Regions from separate parts of the Homo sapiens genome. Here region 1 is linked to region 2. Evidence: promoter capture Hi-C in human tissues and cell types (Jung and others, 2019). All regions are on one chromosome and are shown on one strand. Each heading gives the region's core, a stretch centred on a gene start or on the middle of the fragment in contact. The rest is flanking DNA. Distances are from core to core; before and after follow the strand shown.

Region 1 (2,850 bases), core at 198-2,697, 36 kb after region 2:
AAAAGAAAAAAATGCAATAAATAGTAAACAGTTGACAAACATGGTAGATATTAACCTAATTTTATCAATAATTACTCTAAATATAGATGATATGGGTCGATAATTTAAAAGTAGTGATTGCCAGAGTGGATTAAAAGCAAACAAAAACAAATAAATAAGACCCAACCACATGTTGTTTCCAAAAATCCACTTTAAATAAAAAGACTCATATAGGCTAAAAGTGAAGGGATGGAGAAAGATACACCCTGCCAAAACCAATCAGCAGAAAGCTGCAGTAGTTACGTAAATTTCAGACAAAGCCAACTTCAGAACAACAACAACAAAAATCAGGAATAAAGTTGAGCATTAAATAATGATAAAAGAGTCAATTTTCCAAGGATGTATGATAATTTTAAATGTATATGCACTTAGGAGAATATCAAAATATATGAGGTAAAAACTGATAAAATACACAGTTCACTGCATGGGTTTTTTTTTTTGGTTTTCTCCTGGTCAATCAGATACTCCAGAAAGCAGATGGACTGTTTTTAAGGAAGGAATTGCTGTGAGTTGGGAGAGGAAGAGCAGATGCTCAGTGACCCTGAGTGGGACTGTGTTAGAGTTGGGGAAGACGGAGGATGGATTTCATTAGTAAGTCTGTGTAGAACAGAGAACCCTCCAGGGGAGCTCCTGGCCTGTTTGAGTGGAAGAATCTTGAGGGAATGGTATCTGCCACTTTTCCTGTGGCCAAGTCTGCTGCTGTGGGGGAAACAAGCACTAGATAAAGGCAACTAATGGGAGATGAGAACAGCTTCTCTCCTGGGCTCCTTGCCTGGACCACCAGTTTCTGAAATTACAGATGGTTCTTTATACTTTCCCAAAACATAAAGCATCAGACTTGAAATGGGGTTTCAACAAATGTGCCAAAATGCCATTTGCTGATTATGAAGACTGACACTTGTTTAGATTCGAGGAATTTACAGTTGGCACAACATTTCACTGTGCAGGAGCCCAAATGGAAAAATAAAACCACGCCACTTTAAAACTGTAGTTGTCTTATTTTAAAGAGGTCAAAAGACAGGTTGATAATTTTTTTTTTGTTTCTTTTAGTTCGTTTAGTTTTTGTTTTAGAACGCCCCGCACTAAGTCCACAAGCCCCAGTCTGGAAGTTGAAGGGTGAGAAAAAAGGAGGTAAACGATAAGCGCTCCGCATAATAAATGTAAAGTCACAGCATTGTGTGCACAGAGGTTAACTATACAAGTTTCACGGTCCTTAAGAAACTATTTTCTGAAATTACATAGGTAGGGCCTATCTAGATGGCAGGCTTGGATATAAGCCTATTTCATGAAAATATTAAGCCTTTACTTTTCAAACTTCAATGTGCATGCATGATACCTGGGAGCCTTGTTAAATAAAGTAGTTCCTGGTATCGATTAAAATTCTGCATTTCTAAAAAGCTGCATTTCTAACAACCCTGTTCCGCAGATCACATTCAGCATAAACAAACTTGGAAGAAAGACTGAGAGATTAGAGTCCACTATGCAAGTCACACAAGTCTTCCTAATACCAGGTAACTCAACAACTTAAAGAAACTCAGGCCTAGTCCACCCACTTTCTGAGTGAAAAGTCACCGATGTTCCTCTAGGAATTCTGAGTGGAACTCGAAAGTGTTAATAAAGTTCTAGTTTAATCCCTTAGTTTTACAGATGAGGATATTAAGTGCCTGAGGGTGAAATCATTTGCCCATCATCACATAACTATTTAAGGGTATGGTCAGGATTCTACAGTGGTATTCTTATTAGTATCCTTTACTTGCTTCATATAAAAGAAGTCAGCCTACAACAGAAGATAGAGGGTCAGGATACCATGGGAACAGTGGAGGCATCAGAAAAGCTGGAACAGAAAACAAGGGACAATAAAACCAATGTAAGTTCAATAAATGAATCTATGGAGGAGTAGACCTCTTGCTAAGCTTTTTTTCCCTACTAAGTTTTATTTCACTAACTTCAGGTCAAATTTCCACAACTGTGTTCCGGTCAATTTACTATCCTAGTTTGGCTTCCCAAAGTGGCAGTACCAAAATATTGTGGGGTAGGGAGACGAGACCACTTTAAGAACCACTGCATTTACTCATCAAAGGGTAGAAATAGTCATTTTAATATTGATACAAGTTATTTTAAGGGACAGCATATCAAATAGGGTCATTTCCACCAGGATAGGGTATATGAGACACAAGGGTCAGGAACGATTACGGGGAGCTCCTTTCTTCCTAATGCGGTAAGTGCTCCAGGTTCAGGTCCCAGGCAAAGCTCCCATTAAGCCCACCCTTCCCTTTACTGCACTAGATCAGGGCCTGACTTAGAGGACACATAGGTTCAGGGTAGGACTAAGGATTGCATTATAGACTTCTTAAGGTGTTTCATGATTAAAGAGGAACATCTCTCTCCAACAGTTATAGTTCAACCCAAGTCTTTCAGGCAGTGGAAGAAAAGACATGTAGGTTGTACAGGCTAGCAAAGCCCAAGAAGAATGAATCAGGAAGGTCCCCAACAGTGTCACCTCTCACAGTGGACCCCTGCAGTCTCTGTCTTTGTGATCTTGACATTACATTGATCCAGATGTTGGCTTTCAACTTCCCTCTAACTCCTCCTACGCAAGCTTACCAGTATGGCCCTGATAAGTATATAAGATAGAAAGTGAACAGACAAAGATAATGCAGAAAATTCTCTAATTCAAGCATTCTCTAACATAAATGCTGCAATCTTTAGTCTGTAGTTCATGTCACCTGTTTTTCATGTTGTTTCCCTGGAAACCCTGGGAGGAACATTACTGCCTATGAATGTTTTGAACTCCCTCAAGAAAGGGAATAG
Region 2 (3,045 bases), core at 20-2,519:
TTCTTTTTTTTTCTTTTTAAACATCAGTCTTTCCCCCGGGTCTGGATGGATCCATCTGTGATAGATCACGGCATTACTGGCCTTGTCAAATCTTACCCCGGTATTAACCATGTTTTTCATTTGGACATCACCAGGCTCTTAAAATGTTGTTCCTCCTCCTCCTTAGTAAGCAATGGAAAATCAATATATATCCAGCTACCTCCCCACACACACACAAATATAACATCTAGGAGAGTAAATATTTTTTGTGTTTACGATTATACTCTCAGTGCAAAGAACAGTGCCTTTTTCAATAAACGTTTGATGAAGGAAATAAGATAACTCACTCAATGCCTGGCAAGAATTGGATATCATTCCTCTTGTGCAAGGATCTGTGTGGTACTATCAGATAGTAATTTCTCCTCACAGTCTTCTAAAGCAACTTGATCATCTACCTGTTTCTCTTTTGCCCATTTCCTGTATATTTGGAATTTCTCTGTTTACAATCATGTCACCTGCACTCCAGAAGAAGCTCTACACTACATTCCAAAAAGCAATCAGACCCAAGACAAGTGCTACATATAATCTATACTGCTTCCAAAAATGTCCTGGCTGTCATACATCAAAGAAAGAATCAAATGAAGATATCCACATATGGGCTCATTTAGAGTTTCTGTTACTTTAATAATATAAAATCAAGTCCAAATTCCTGATTGTAAAGTGAAATAACAAGAATGGGGTTTGTGAGCTGATGGGCCAGCACAATGGGCTCAAAGATAAACCAAGCAAATAAGATCTATTCTTCTGGCCAGTAGATCCATGCTCTCTGTTCATTCTGAATTCTGAGAATACTTTGTAAACTGAGGACTCCAAATTTTCCTCTCCATTGGATACACAAAGCATAAAAGAGGAGTGAAAAAAGAGGTGAGGGCCCCTATAATTTCAGCTACTCTGGAGACTAAGGCAGGAGAATTGCTTGAACCCGGGAGGTGGAGGTTGCAGTGAGCTGAGATCGTGCCACTGCACTTCAGCCTGGCCAACAGAGTGAGACTCAGGGAGGGAGGGAGGGAGGGAAGGAGGGAAGGAGGGAAGGAGGCAGGGAGGGAGGGAGGGAAGGAAGGAAGGGGAAAGAAAGAAAAAAAAAGAAAGAGAAAAAAAGAGAAAGAAAGAGAAAGAGAGAGAAAGAGAGAGAGAAAGAGAGAGAGAAAGAAAGAGAGAGAAAGAGGCAAAGATGGCACTTATGTAACTTACAAAGAGAAAGTATGATCATTTAATCATCTGTTTGTATAGGATTTTTAGTCCAAATTTTCCTTTGGCATATTAGAGGTTAGGGATCTCCACCCATGATCTGGAATGCTTTCTTCTTAGCCAAATAAACTCTGACTAAATGACATGCAGCAGCGTGCGTCTCTGTCTTCTGCACAGACATCTTCCAAGACACTGATATCTACATTGCTTTCTCCTACGTGGAAATTTAAATATCTTTGGAGCCTTTGGGACCCCATTCCTGAATGAGTCCTATTCAAGGAGGTTGTTGAGCAAAGGGAGTAATTAGAAGTGAGTAAACTGTCTAGTTGAAATAGAATATGGTGATGTTTCCCACTGTGACAGTGCTGGATAGGAACAAGGGGGAGCCAAATCTCTATTTTCTACCTCTAAGATTGACCCTGGGAAAGGAGAAAAAAGGTGAATGGTATAGCCCAATCCTAGGACATATGTAGAAACCAGTTACCCAGTTTCAGGATACATTATCGGAATGAGAAATAACCTAACAACCATATATCTCAGACTTTTAAAAATATCCAATTTTAAATATTTTAATCTCAGTTTCTTCATAGTTCTTGCCATGAACTGAATTGTGTTCCTTCAAAAATTCGTGTTGAAACTCTTAACACACCCAATCCACGTAACTGTATTGGAAGTAGGGTCTTTAAGAAGGTGAATAAAGTTAAATGAGACCATAAGGATGAAGCCCTGATGCAATAGAACTGGTATCTTTGTAAAAGGAGAGACATCAGATCTCTCTCTCTGTCTCTTTCTCTCTCTCTCTCTGCCTGTCTTTTTCTCTCCCTTTATCTCTCCATGTGAGAACACAGCAAGAAGACAGCCCCATCTCTAAGCCCCAGAAACCAAACCCTGCTGCAAAACCTGTGCAACCTTGATCTTGAATTTTACAATCTGCAGAACTGCGAGAAAAAAAATTCCTGTTGTTTGTGTCACCTAGTATATTCTGTTTTGTTATGGCAGCCCTAGTGAACTAACATAGTTCTTCTACTTTTCAGACTATGGTTTCTAATATTTTGATATAGAAATAGAATTTCTTTTCCTAGACTCCAACAAACATTTGTCAATTGGCACAGCTGAATTTCCTGAACCAGAAATAGTTCTCCTGATGATATTCCCAGAATTATATCAAAGTATTATTCAACAAACATTAATTAATAACCTATACAACCAAGAATAAGACAAATTTCCTTAATCTTGACCTTCTCTTCTGTGAAAGGAGTCAAGAACCTTGCCCTTTGAGATTCCAGACATTTGTAATCTGGAAATTATTCCTCTTTCATGTAACGTAACAGTTACAGAGTTGTCAAAGAACTGAAAAATATGTAAAAACCTGAAATAATAAAGTAGAGAAAACAAAAGAAAAGAGGTCAGCAATGCTAAATTTGGCTCTTTGAAAAGACTAAGAAAATAGAAGTACTTCTTTAAAAATGATTCTTGAAAAAAGTGAGAAGGCACATATAAACATGAGGAATGAAAGGATGACAGAAGCACATGGATTAAGCAGAATGAAAAGAGATATTACAACATTTGCCAAGATATTCAAATGATTTGTCAAAATAATTTATCAAATGCTTATTAATTTGTGAAAACTGACTAAAAATAGAAAATATGAAGAGTCGTATGTAAAAGTTTCTATTGCTTACTGCATAACCAATTACTCCAAACTTTTGTGGCTTAGAGGCATTTATTATCTCATGCTTTCTGTGACTCAGAAATCCAAGCACACCTTAACTCAATTCCTCTGGATCAGGGTCTCTCATGAAGTTACAGTCAAGCTAC

Evidence for each region. Contacts are between HindIII fragments. The study calls those that stand out against the background at their distance.
Region 1: a contact is called between a fragment that was not itself captured here and the fragment with the promoter of OR10D3 in region 2, in 3 of the 25 tissues and cell types used here (bladder, pancreas and psoas muscle).

What each region holds. Positions count from the first base shown.
Region 1 is chr11:124,146,168-124,149,017 of GRCh38, reverse strand. VWA5A (von Willebrand factor A domain containing 5A) reads right to left here. Exons shown (of 19, transcript NM_001130142.2): 19 at 1,297-2,850. Among named protein-coding and RNA genes, the nearest start is that of VWA5A, 32 kb to the right of the region's middle. The HindIII fragment of the contact is 3,586 bases long and covers 1-2,850 here.
Region 2 is chr11:124,181,569-124,184,613 of GRCh38, reverse strand. It overlaps OR10D3 (olfactory receptor family 10 subfamily D member 3), which reads right to left and starts at 1,269. Exons shown (of 2, transcript NM_001355213.3): 1 at 1,231-1,269. The HindIII fragment of the contact is 12,854 bases long and covers 1-3,045 here.